4 separate regions of the Homo sapiens genome follow, and all the other regions are linked to region 1. The links are contacts of gene promoters, found by promoter capture Hi-C in human tissues and cell types (Jung and others, 2019). All regions are on one chromosome and are shown on one strand. Each heading gives the region's core, a stretch centred on a gene start or on the middle of the fragment in contact. The rest is flanking DNA. Distances are from core to core; before and after follow the strand shown. Region 1 holds the start of ERBB4 (erb-b2 receptor tyrosine kinase 4). Region 2 overlaps ERBB4 (erb-b2 receptor tyrosine kinase 4). Region 3 overlaps ERBB4 (erb-b2 receptor tyrosine kinase 4). Region 4 overlaps ERBB4 (erb-b2 receptor tyrosine kinase 4).

Region 1 (3,385 bases), core at 535-3,034:
CTCTGCCCTAGGCTGCTTCTGGTAAAACCGCACGCTCAGCTTGTTGGGCGTCTTCATGGAGCCTGTTATTTGCTGTGGGTCTAAGAAAGGGAAAGCTTCAGGCTTCAGGCATCTGTACCTCCTATCTGTTCTCAGCTCCATGGAAATTCTTAAGGGATGGGGCTATAGATAAGAGAGTGGGAAATGGAGATCAAGGTCTCAAATGAAAGGCAGGGTGGTTTGATTTTTAAGCTCCCCTGATACTTTTTATTTATATATTTGCTGCTTCTAGAAAAACCAAAAAAGGAAAGTGATTCATACATAGAATGCCTGTACAAATAGCAAACCAATAACTACCCCCAGCAGATTCTGGCCCTTGCCAGGGTGCGGTTTCAGAGCTGTAAAAGGCAAGGGATATGTACATTGAAATGACCCAGTCCCAGAATATTTTAGATTCAGAAAAGGTCAGAGACTTTCGTAACTAGCAATGACCTCCAGATTAGGGACCATGAATGTGCAGAGTGAGGACAAGGAAGGGGCCTAAAGCTGGGTCTACTGTAGAATAAACAGAATCATTTAAGGTTAATTATGTTCTGATGTGGCCTCCTTAAATTCTTTCAGGCTGGGGACAATTTCTAGCCCTTTAAGATCAAATCAGTGGCTTTGGACTAGAATCTGCTTAATAAGAATGAACTCCAAAGGTGAAAAAAAAACATAAAATCTAAAAATCAAAGGATATGCCTTTATAAATGTGAAAGTTTAGTTTGGCTCAATGTTGGTCAGTTTAGAAATGTGGGAGTAATCGGAGAGATGGCATAACTGGGGGCGGGAGGCGGGGCGGTGATTATACCCCTACCACTACCTAATCCTCAGGGGCTACCAGTTACTTGCTGTACACACTTTTAAAGTACTTTCTAATTGTGGACCATGAGTGGCAGAGTACTGCGGGCGGAGGCTTTTTGCTGAAAGCAACATTGACTTTTATTTCTAGGGAAAGTCTTGTCTGTAGATGAGCACCGTGGGGCAACGGAGAAAATGCTGACTTTCTTGTTTAAAAAAAAAAAAAATTTCCGTAAGCGGCCCTCCAATGGTCCGTCCACTCAGCAGGCCAGCTGTCCCAGGCCTCTGCCAGGGAGGGAAGACGAGTGCTTCAGTGCATGGCTTCGGTGAGCCCTTTAAATCCAGCTTCCCCTGCCCCCACCAAGAGGCTCCCTTTCCCTGACAGGTGTTTTCCCAACTCCGGAGGCCCAGGATTTTGGGGAGTGGCTGAGCCAATAAGATTTCCCTTTGGAAGGGGGGGGGAAGGGCGTGGCTAGTTGGGTCAGAGCATGGGCGGGGTTTGCGCGGCTGAGCAGAGCCGGCCTGGTTGCGTGGAGGGTTGTTTTATTCCCACCGCCCCCCGCACCTTTTTTTTTTTTTTTTCTGGAGTCTTATTAATTTCTCTGTGGGCTGCAGCTGGAGACCGCGGAGCGCTGGAAATGACGCTCGGAGCTTTAATTACCGCAGCCGCCGGACAAGTGTGAGGAAAGCTGAGAGGAAAAAGAAGGACGGGATCCGGGGAGAAGCGAGAAGCTCCCCCCGCCCCGCTCCCCTCCCGATTTGGACTGGAGGTGCAAGGAAACTGAAGAAGGAGCAGAACATAGCCCGGCTGCGGGGAGAGGCCGGAAACCTACCGCCTCTTTGCAATCAACTTTTTTTGGAAACCTTTCGCCCCCCTTCCTTTTTTATTGTTGACCAACCAGTGAGAGAGAGAGAAAGTGAGGAGGGAGCGAGCAAGCGAAGGCTCACGCGGGGAAATAGCTGCACAGTCCGGCCCAGAGCGCCAAGCGCACACACCGAGCACACTCCCACACGCGCACACACGCGCTCACACTCGCCCCCTCCTCGGGCCCCGGCCCTGGACCCGCGGGCGCGGACTCGGTCGCCCGCCCTGGGAGTCGCCACACCGCGCGCGCCGCGCCCGCCCCCCTCGCACCCCCACGCGCGCCCGGCTGGGGGATCTCCTCCGCGTGCCCGAAAGGGGGATATGCCATTTGGACATGTAATTGTCAGCACGGGATCTGAGACTTCCAAAAAATGAAGCCGGCGACAGGACTTTGGGTCTGGGTGAGCCTTCTCGTGGCGGCGGGGACCGTCCAGCCCAGCGATTCTCAGTCAGGTGGGTTCCTTCTGGCACTCCGGTCGCCGAACCTGCAGCCGCCGGCGGGGCTGCCTCGAGTGGCTCCCCTGCCCTCTTCACCCATCCCGGGAGGCGTGGAGGGACCGCTTGACCGGGGCCTCTTCCCTGGGCTTTCGGTCACCCCTCTTTCCATTTGAAACTTACCCTGTATGTGTGCGTTTGCTTTATTTATCGTGAAAAATCACTCTGAGTCCCTCTTTTCTCTCCTTAACCCCCTGCTTTTCTTTCCCGAGCGTTTTGTTTGGGAGCCTAAGCGGGATCCCTTCTGGTGGCGCCTGTTGTTCGGGACATGGGAGACCCAAATCCCCAGTCAGAGGAGACTCTTCTGTCCCTGTCGGGTCCCCGAGGGCAGAACCCGCACCGCCGGGGCCGCGGTCCTGGGGCGGTGCTGGCTGGGCCTCTCCCGAGCCGAGCCCGAAGGGCGGTGGAGAGCGGCGCTCAGAAAATCGGGCTTTGCACCTGTGTGTGCTGCTGGCGACCGCTGCGCCCCCAGTCGCCCGAGCCTTGTGGCGTCAGACGCAACTCGCGCCCAGCCCGGGCAGCCGGAGTGCAGCAGGCGGGCGCGCCTCGGTCCGGGGCCCGGAGTTCTGGGCCTCTTCCGCCGGCTTCCCGGAGCCCTCTCCCCATTGACTTGAGGGGCGCTTACTCGCCTGCCTGACCTCTTAAAAAAAAAAAAAAAGGCTTGGCACACTTGAGCCAGAAGCCCGGCCTTCCCGTCGGTTGCCGTGTTTGGCTCCGGGAAGAGTTCTTCCTGTAGTTCAACTTGCTATTGGCCGGAGTCCTTCAAACTTGTCTGTTTACTGCCCGGCCAGGCTGCCGAGCCTGCGGGTCACTGGATCCACCCGAGGCGAAAGCGGCAGCGGCGATGGGTGCGCGGCCACTGCTTGCTGGAGAGCTCGAGCCCCAGGTACCTGGGCAGGCAAAGGGCTAATTGACCCCGAGAGGCAGCGCGGCGGGGCTGGCCCGCCACGGCTTGCAGGACTAATGACAGCACCTGCAGTGCAATGGAGCTCAAAGTTTCTGACACTAGAGTTTCCTGGGGATGAAAGTGGGACGGGAGAGGTCTGAGGAGGACCGGTGTCTTGACGTGGCCAAGGGGTGCCTTTTGGAGAGCCAGAGAGATTTCCGAAACCATCCAGGGATGGTGACTGGAGCGTGGGAAGTAGCTTGAGGTGATAAAGCCCCCGGGAGTGGCGATAGGGAGCGCTTTAGGCCCCCGGAGGGTGT
Region 2 (3,385 bases), core at 389-2,888, 490 kb after region 1:
ACTGTCTGATTATTATCTCTAAACTCCATGAAAACAAGAGTGTTGTCTATAAGAATCATCAAATATCAAGCATTCTATAAATATTTGTTTTAAAAATTAATATGAAGGGCTGGGCACGGTGGCTCATGCCTCTAATCCTAGCACTTTGGGAGGCTGAGGTGGGTGGATTGCTTGAGCTCAGGAGTTCGAGACCAGCCTGGGCAACATGGTGAAACCCCATCTCTACTAAAATACAAAAAAAAAAAAAAAAATTAGCCAAGTGTGGTGGTGGGTACCTGTAGTCCCAACTACTTGCGAAGCTAAGACAGGAGAATTGCTTGAACCCAAGAGGCAGAAGTTGCAGTGAGCCAAGATCAAGCCACTGCTCTCTAGCCTGGGGGACAGAACAAGACTCCATCTAAAATAAATAAATAAATAAATAAATAAAATTAATATGAAGGAGAATCTTCAAGAATGGTCAAATGGAGAATTAGAAGAAAGTTAAGATTCTTTTCATTCTTGCAAAATAGTGTTATTTTCGTGAAACATATTTGTAGTTTCATCCTGTCCACATCCATTTAGATAAGCTATTGAGACTAAAGAGAATAATTTAGAAGTTTTGTTTTGATTAATCAGTTGATACTCATAGATTATTCAAATTCATGTATATTTGAGTTAACATTGCTGGATAATTTGTAAAGTGTGGGTGGATTTTGTTTAGGATAAAGAGTGTTAGAGGTAGAAAACTTAAAAGTTTTTTTTTACTTCATTTTAGGACAACAATATATAATATGCAGTTAAAATTCAGTGTAACTTTTCTCTTAAAATTATGTTCTTTTTGGGAGAATAATGGCTATTACATGAAATAGAGAACCCAAAAATATATCCTTTGTATGAATTATTTTTGCACTCAGCTCTTTGTGCTTATTTTCTATAGTAAGCTTCCAAATTGGGAAAAGAAAATGGCATATAATCAGTATATCCAAGGTAGATGAACTCTTGAAGATATGCAGGAATTCCACAAGGTTAAGCAAAGCAAATCTTGTATACTTTTGGGCCATTAATTTACCTTGAACTTTTGGGAGAAAAAAACAGCTTACCATGACAACCAGCAAACAGCAAACGTTGCATTACTCTTAGGATGAAATATCACTAGGTGAAGAAATTTTTCCATTACATCTGATAGATTTGTGCCACGGCCCCCAAATCTCCTGGCTTTAAGATTTCCCACTCCATTGCAATGGCAAATAGACAATTTGGTGGAAAAATATAAGAATCACTGGACTGTAATAGACATCCTTCTGTACAATAGAATGTCCTATTAATTGATGAATACGAAGGTAAATGATAAATACATCAATACTGCTAAGTAATAGTAAATATATAAATGGAAACTCATATGGGAGTGATATCAGATCTAGACCATCCTATACTTTTCTTTAATGTTCTTTTCAAAACTGCACACATTTAACTTATAAACAGCAAAATACTCCCTTACCAGATTTATTGTTGCATAGTGGGTAGGGTCAGAAAACTGAACTTCTCTAGCTGTGCTACTGTTTACTATGTGCAAACATGGTTAATGGGCTTCACCTCTCTGGGGCCTAGGTCCCTCATCTGTAAAGTGAAGGGATTAGTTTATTCTCTTAGGTGTCTCGTAGCACCAAACTGCTGTGATTCTATTTCCTTTTGCTTTTTTATTATGTCTCATAAAAAATTAGGTCTCTCCATTTTTAGATTTCGCATATTTCTGTTCAACAGCATTATTTTCAGGTTCTCTTCTCCACTTCACATGTCTGAAAAAAATTAACATGGATTGGGTTTCCCATCTTTACTCATTTATCCAAATTGTCATCTTCAGAGGCAAATGGTGGATCATGAGAATTGTGATAGCTTGAATGAGAGAATCCCTGAATACCAGTGAGTCTAAGACGGTTTATTCCATAGAATATATTGGTGATACAAAGTAGGAGGGTTTGACATCTCTGTCCTTGTGCTTAGAGATATAGCTACAAATGTTCATCTCTGCCAAGGATATATATATTACTGGTCATTTGTAAATGAAGCATCGGGAAATGTGAAGTTCCCTTTTGAAGTTAAGAGCTGATTGTCACTCTTGGTTATTTCAGCAGACTACTTTGATTGTAAAAGCTATTCTTGGACACAGTAGCGGTTTGTTCATCTGTAAGGACAGGAGAAAGAAGCCTTTTCAGGTTCATCTATCAGCCTTAAGTCTTATTGACGTTTCATGTTGGTACTGTTCAGTCTCATTTCCAGGTATGATCCACTCTTACTTAGTCCTCCCTGAGGCTAAAACTTCAATGGTAGCTTGGATCTTCTGACGATGCTTTTATGGGGGAATGGGATTTGGAAAGCAATTGAGGGTTATACTACTATATATTACCAAAAACAAAATGTTACTTTTCTTTTTCCTTTCTTTAATTTGTTGAGACAGAATCTCCTCTCTCCTCTATTGCCCAGGCTGGAGTGCAGTGGCACAATCTTGGCTCACTGCAACCTCTGTCTCCCAGGTTCAAGTGATTCTCATGCCTCAGCCTCCCAGGTAGCTGGGACTACAGATGTGCACCACATGTCTGGCTAATTTTTGTATTTTTAGTAGAGACAGATTTCGCCATGTTGGCCAGGCTGGTCTCAAACCCCTGGCTTCATGTGATCTGCCTGCCTTGGCCTCCCAAAGCGCTGGGATTACAAGCATGAGCCACTGCACCCAGCCTAGTTTTATTCTCACGTAGTATATTTAATTGCCATACCAAGGGAATCCAAGTCCCAAAGGTCAAGTTGAGAAGACAATTACCAATATTTTTATGCAAGATTCATATAACATAATTATTTTTTGGTCAATAAACAATTGTGAGAATAAAGCTTTTTTAAGCTTTTGATGGCTATTATGTTAACTGTTAATATATGACGGGTAATGAAGTGTCAGAGGCTCATTAGATCTTTGAGCCTATTGCTGCCAGACCCTGATGATACTGAAATCGTATCTATCCCATCAAAAACAACACATAACAATTGGAACTGAGAAGAAAGAAAAAAAAAGAAAGAAAGAAAATATTTTTTCAGCTTCAATCAGGGTCATTTATGGTTCCTTTTTCTATGATTAGGACTTTGGGACATAAAAGATTCCCTGAACTATAAGGGTATCAGTTTAAGGAGGTATGGGAGTAAGATCCTCCAGATAACATATTAGCCAACAATAAGCATTGCATCCTTTTGAAGCTTTGTACTAACATCAAAAGTTTTATGATTAGGAGTTGAGAATTTATACAGTCTTCAGAATGTAAAAGAAAGTGTTATAAAAGCTAGTAGATGTTAAAATTTATTGTAATATAAGAGGAGTAATCCTGAATGTGGGAGAAAAAAATAGAAACCATTAGTTATAATA
Region 3 (3,385 bases), core at 330-2,829, 320 kb after region 1:
CATTATTATTTGACTGAACACTGAGGGATAAGAAAGCCTTAATTGAATATAGCAGGGAGGGAAGGACCTTCCAGCCAGAGAAAAATATGTGCAAAGACATTTTGGCAAATGGTTGGTCATTGTTAACATATCATCTGTTGCCATCTCAAACAAGATGGGAACTAGGGATACACACAAGAAGTCAGCACCTGCTATATATTATCCCAGGAACAAGAGGTCTTAGGAGAATGCTATATTCCTATTCATTCCCTTCTGCTAAAATCATCAGAATTAACTCTTAGGCTGGGAAATAAAACCAAATCTCTGGTTTTTATAACTAGGTCAAAGCAATGCTGGGCATTTGGGATGGCGAATAAAAAGCTTTTTCTTTGTGTATGCTTATTTGTGTCCACTTGATAGTGTACTTATGTGTTTAGATTTAAAATAGATCTTCCAGTCTCCTGTGACATTAAGTAATTTGTAGCAAATATGAAATATAGTAGGTGAAAGTGATTTAATGAGTACATATTCTTATATACTCAAAAATATTGATCCAGTTATAAAAGGAGAAAAAGATTTTACTGCAATTCTCATTGCCTGAGGACTTTGCATTATGATGACTACATTCTGTTTTGATAAGCAAGTTTCTTGATCTTTGAAATGCTACAAAAGTGATTTATTATCCAAAATTAAAACTATTTTCTTCATCCTTAAGGTACTGTGATAGTTGAAATAGGCTTTTTACTTCATTCACCATGTAAATTTCCTTCACCTCTGGCAACACTGATGAAAAATCCCACTTTTTTTTTTTTTTGCGGGTTGATAAAAATACATTTTTCATTCCTGAATTAAATGTTCTATAAAAATTAAAGCCTATTTTTGAAGTTATAAAACTGTCACTTTATAATAAAAGGTTGTTTTCATTGACAAAACCAGAGGGTTTGTGCAGGTTTCTATTTTGCTCCTAAGAGTGTTTTGTGTTATGAATTTGGCCATGCACACAATTTACACTACTGTTTATAAGGTATAGGAGTAAAGAATACATAATTTCAGGGATGAATGATCAGGATATGGGGTGTGTGTGTGATGTAGTTGTCCATTGGCTCTTTCTAGCTTCTAGGGAGGCTCAGTAAGGGGCAGAGGAATGCTGCATACAAGGCTAGCATGAATAATATAATTAGATTTTTTATTTTTCCCCCCATTCTGGATTTAACTAACACAAGTGGGAGAAGGTGACCAAAAATTGGACTGTTTGGAATCATAGTATATCTTGTCAATCACAAGTGGAGGGAATTGCTTTAAAAATCTTATTATTTTTTATTAAATAATATAGAAAAATGTTATAATTTAGGTCTTTCTGACATGCTTGTTTAGCAGTTTTTAAAGTATTATGTGTGCATCAGAATTACAGTATAAATGTGACATAGTCACCTATTTATTGATTGCTATAAAAAGACATTATACAAACTTCACCCTACCATTTATAATTCATATGTGTATACTTTTCAGAAATGCAATAATGTTTAGAGGACAAAATAAGAAATGGTTTTAGTTCTACCATTTACCAATTTTTTAAAATCATAACTTCTTTGGGTCTCATTCTTTTCATTTTTAACATTAAGTAGTTAGATTGTAATCTGTAAACTCTGACACTTCATGATTTTATGATTCTACAAAATCTCTATTCTTTCCTTTCTTTAAATCGGGGGAGAAAATACTATTTTAAAACATTTTTGGCATCATAAAAAGGAATGGAATCTACACGAATCATTGTGTGGTCCCTGTAGATTTACGTTTGAGTGGTAAAAAAAAAATGGCATATACATTCAAGGATAAAAGTTCTAGTACATATGGTGAACTTTTAAAACATCTTTTGAGACTTTAAAAACAGTAAACATGGCTATCTTTGGGAAATCTGAATATCCCCATTCTATATATTATGTGTAAATTAAGAAACATACATGAAACTCATCTTTCTGATGCACACAAACCTAGGTTACCAGGATAAATCCCATGATATTGATATGTGCCAGCATGAGCCATTGGCATCCTGTGAGGTTGTGCAGTCAACCTAGAGTGAGATATGAATACTATAGACTCACTTTTGCCAATGTGAAATTCCTTATTTAACTAAAATGGAATGGCAATCTCTGGATTAATGATGAACAGTGTTGAAGGCAATTAGCTGGTTGACTAGCTCCAGGTTCACACATTATTAATTCTGGATGTTCTCTCACAGGCTTAAATCTTATGAGAACATGGCCTGGCTTTGCCCTCTATTTTCTTATTGTCTTACCATCTAGGCTTCCTTAATAGTAAGCAAGGATGCAAACAAACAAACACACAAACAAACAGACAGACAAAACAAAGGGATGAATGCTGTAGCCAGGATGTTTTACTCTTTGAAGAATAGAGTTAGGGAAAAATTTATCTTTCTCATATATTATGGAAGGAATAAATGGCCTATAATTTTCTGAATAAGCCTCCTGATAGAAAAAATTTAATTTGTACTTCAGATATTATTCATTAAGGCCGCACAGAACTGAAATTCTTACCAATTGAAACCCAAAGCTGATCCTGTAATTATGTGCAACTTATAAAAAAGGTTTTATGCCAATATTTCTAAAGCAGCTCTCGTTAGCAATGGAGACTTTGAGGCTATAGTAAAGAACTACTTTATTCTTATTATGTTACTTTTCATAATAATCATGTCACATGATGTCACAGAAGCAAGCAGACAGTATTAGGTATTCAATAAATATACTTTTTTCTCATCTAATTTACAAATAGTTATTGATCTTTGGGTTGTCATGATATGTGCTGATTCAACATTCTGTCTTAAGATTTAAGTGCACCAGAAGAAATATATACTTTATTGGGCATTTATTATGTTCTAAGACCTAAGGGCTTTACATATATTATCTTGTTCGGTCATCACAAAAATCCTTGTAATCTCATTTTATAAATTAATATACGGAAGCTTAATTAAATTATAAAAACTATCAAGACTCAACAAAATGACCAGTATTTTAAACTTGAATTTGAAACTAGTTCTTTATGATTCTGGAGCTTATGTTTTAATGGGTCTGTTTAAATTACCTCTGAATGTACTTGATGTGTTCTGATGACAATAGATTGTCACGGTGAGAAATCGAACCGTTTCCTTCTTTTTCCTTTGGAAACTGGTACTCAAACATATGTTGTCTGCCTAGCCTTACCCTGGCTACCCTCTAGAGACATAGCTTCTTATACTAACAAATTCTCTCCATGTCTCCTTCAAATTAAATTGTCTGCCCTTTTGTTTTGGAAGAAAGTTTCATGTCTTTTTTTTTCTTCTAAGTCTCTAATATAAAATGCCTTGCTCAATTAATATTTGTTGAATGAATGAACACATTTAACCTCAGTT
Region 4 (3,385 bases), core at 602-3,101, 290 kb after region 1:
TCGAGTTGTTTGTTTCCTCTGTGGTGTGATCAGTGTGTCAGATTCAACATAGCTGTCCGCATTTTAACTTAATCTTCATTCCTTTGGTTTTGTTATTTAGTGAGTGGGCTGGTATGAAATTAGGCACTGGGTTGGTAAATAAAATAATGAGCAAATACGTTTGGACTGAGGAATTGTTATAAAATGTATTTATTTGTTTTTAGTTAGAGGCCATAATATTTTAAGTAGGATTTAAAATTGTATGTTATTTATATGGTCTTCTAGGAATATACATATTGATAATCAACTAATTTTTTTTTTAAATTTTACAGTCATGTGTGGCATAATAACAGTCAATGACTGACCACCTCTACCACAGCGGTCTCCTGAGATTATAATACTGAATTTTTACTGTGCCTTTTCTGTGTTTAGTTAGATACATTTAGGTACACAAATACCATTGTATTACAATTGCCTACAGTATTCAGTACAGTAACATACTATACAGGTGTGCAGGCTAGGAGTGATAGGTTATACCAGATAGCCTATGTGTGTAGTAGGCTACACCATGTGGACTTGTGTAAATACACTCTGTGATGTTCCCACAGTGACCAAAATGCCTAACGATACATTTTTCAGAACATATCCCCTTCATTAACTGGCATATGACTTTACTTAACTACTTAACTAACTTTTTAACGGCAACCCAAAAATTAGGCATGAAATGATTAATTTATCTCAACCTCTGCACAAATGCCAAGAACAGAGTGGTTTAGACCCTTGTTTTCCAAGTGTGTTCTGCTAACCAGCTGCATGGGCAAAACCTGAAATCTAGTTAGAAATGCAAAAGTATGGGCCCCACTCCAGACTACGGAATCAGAACCTACATTTTAACAAGATCTTAAGTGATTCCTATGAACATGAAATTCTGAGAAGAACTGGTTTTGATGAAGAAGAGAAGCAAATTTACTTATTATAGGTTTTTTTAATGTAATGGAAAAAGTAATGAGAAAACTGATAAGATCAAGAAAAATGCACCAAAATGTAGTCATATAATAACTACCTGAGATGTTCACTCAATTTTCATTTACTTCAGCATTATTAAATATTTAATTTTTATTTGTAGTTACAGCTTCAATCCCATCTCACTTTTATTGCTTTGTTAAATTCATATACAAAATAAGAGGGTTACCAGGAAATTTGTAACAACTTTTAATTGAACATGTTAGTCAAGGAGCCCCAGAACGATTACAGATTATGTGGTATCACTTTGGCGACTGCTACTCATGATGTTTATTCACATTTAATAGAATAAATCTACAGACATTTGATTCTAAGAAAAGTAAGCTAATGAAGCATGTAATATATAACTGACGACTTTTCTCAATGTAAACATAGGATGTAGATGTCAAACTGTCATGAATATTAGAAGAAATGCAAATGATGTTATGCAAATTTTCCCACAAGATGCTCACTCATTGTAATGTATCTTTTGATTATGTGTCTGAGCATCTAATGTCTGTAGATGATACTCTAAAGATATGTGTCACTTTTCAACTTTTAATTTTTACAATACATATGTCTGCATTGGAATAGAAGCTTCTGCCATCACACCTACATGTGTAAGTGATAGCATCTGTGACTCTATATGCTATCTTCTCTCTTTTTATTATAGATGACCTGTCTGTCTAAAAGTCTCATTATTCTTTCCTCTATGATCATCAGCATAAAAGGATGATATTTATCCAGTATTTTAAAAACTTTCTTTGGACCCCAATTTTTCCCCTGGCTACATCCTGATTTCTTTCCTTTCCAAGAAAAAACAAGTCTTAGAAGTCTAGCTGAATTTCACTATCTCTAATTTTGCTCCTCCATCTTTTCTTGAAATCACTCCAGTCAGCCAGTGGACCTTACCATTTTACTAAAATGACTCTTACCAAAGTCCAAAATGACCTTCATATGGCATGCTTACATTTTAGTTTTAGTCTTCGTTGATCTATCAGCAGCATTTGACACAGACGGTCATTCTCTTCTTTTTGAAACACTTTCTTAACATGGCTTTCATGACACCAAAATTCCTCCTACCTTTCTGCTCTTCTTAATCTCTTTCATTCATTTGTGTTTACCTCCTCTACCTCTAAATGTTGGAGTTCCCCACAGGGATTAATTCTAGGATACCTTTTTTCTATCTACAGTCATATCCATCGTCGTGATTTATTTAATGCTGTATATAAATGACCCCTCAAATTTATATGTCATCGCAGTAAATTGCAAATAGATTCTTTTAGTTGCTTAAGTCAGACACCTGGAACGTATCTTTGACCTTTTCTCATCACTGCCCTTATCCACATGCCAAACATTTTGAGGTTCTACTTTAAAAATATATCTAGAATCCAACCACATTTCAACACCTCCATTGTCATTACCCTTGTAAAAGCTACCCTTCTCACTTGCTTGGATTTTTGCAGTGGCTTTCTGTCTAGTCTTGTTTTTACCCTTGTGATCCATTGTCAGTATAAAAGCTAGAGTGCTAAAATGTAAATCAGACCATGGCACTCCTCTGGTTAGTGGTTAACTTCCCATGGCTTCCTATATCTTTTTGACTAACAGCCAGCAATGGATCTTCAAATAACTACATGGTCTGACCACCTGTCACCTTTCTAAATTCATTTCCTACCATTTCACCCTTGCTTGCTTTTCTTCTGAAGTATTAACCTTTTTTTTAAAAAATACCTAAAATATATTGGGCACACCCCTACCTCAGGATATCTGCATTTGCTATTCCTTTTGCCTGTATAGTTTTCTGTCATATGTCTGCATGGCTTCCTCTCTCACTTTCTTCATCTAGTTTCCCAAAAGTCCTCCAATCAAAACTTGTAAGTTCCTGAAAGCTACTGATCCTCATTTTTGCTTTTTATTTTTTCCTTATTCCTTACTACTGTCAAAAGCATGTTATGTTTTACCTATCGTGTCTGTTTTCTCTTCTCACTACGATATGAGGTACTTGAGGACAGGGATTATGTTTTTAGTTTATTCCCTGCTGTTTTTCAAGTGCCTAGAATGATGCCTGCTGCATATTAAATATGAATAAATGTTTATCAAATAAATGAATAAATAAATGAATGTATACATGCTGGATGCTTTTAACTTCTTAGACTAATATGGCAGTTTTCAATAAGCTTCTAATAAGAGCATTTTTGTAAATAAAAAGCAAACTGTATATATAATTCTTCCTAATAGAAATTTTGTGTCTTACTGGAATTCAGGATGTAAAGACATTTTAGATTGAGTCAAGTATATCCTCAATAGAATAACAAGTTTTCAACTCAGAAAATTTGAAATAATTTTGTACCCATCAACTTGAAGCTTAGTTGCTATTGCCAGCCCTAGACTATTTGATAAACAA

The links. The method cuts DNA at HindIII sites, captures the fragments that hold promoters and counts their contacts. A contact is called where the count stands out against the background at its distance.
Region 2: a fragment that was not itself captured here is called in contact with the fragment with the promoter of ERBB4 in region 1 in 1 of the 25 tissues and cell types used here (aorta).
Region 3: a contact is called between a fragment that was not itself captured here and the fragment with the promoter of ERBB4 in region 1, in 1 of the 25 tissues and cell types used here (dorsolateral prefrontal cortex).
Region 4: a fragment that was not itself captured here is called in contact with the fragment with the promoter of ERBB4 in region 1 in 1 of the 25 tissues and cell types used here (hippocampus).

What each region holds. Positions count from the first base shown.
Region 1 is chr2:212,537,201-212,540,585 of GRCh38, reverse strand. It overlaps ERBB4 (erb-b2 receptor tyrosine kinase 4), which reads left to right and starts at 1,784. Exons shown (of 28, transcript NM_005235.3): 1 at 1,784-2,137. The coding sequence starts at 2,056. RefSeq lists an enhancer at 2,753-3,253. The HindIII fragment of the contact is 8,258 bases long and covers 1-3,385 here.
Region 2 is chr2:212,044,506-212,047,890 of GRCh38, reverse strand. The region is part of intron 2 of ERBB4 (erb-b2 receptor tyrosine kinase 4); the gene reads left to right. Among named protein-coding and RNA genes, the nearest start is that of MIR548F2, 380 kb to the left of the region's middle. The HindIII fragment of the contact is 5,412 bases long and covers 1-3,385 here.
Region 3 is chr2:212,217,364-212,220,748 of GRCh38, reverse strand. All of the region lies in intron 1 of ERBB4 (erb-b2 receptor tyrosine kinase 4), which reads left to right. Among named protein-coding and RNA genes, the nearest start is that of MIR548F2, 210 kb to the left of the region's middle. The HindIII fragment of the contact is 5,379 bases long and covers 1-3,385 here.
Region 4 is chr2:212,251,016-212,254,400 of GRCh38, reverse strand. The region is part of intron 1 of ERBB4 (erb-b2 receptor tyrosine kinase 4); the gene reads left to right. Among named protein-coding and RNA genes, the nearest start is that of MIR548F2, 170 kb to the left of the region's middle. The HindIII fragment of the contact is 5,024 bases long and covers 1-3,385 here.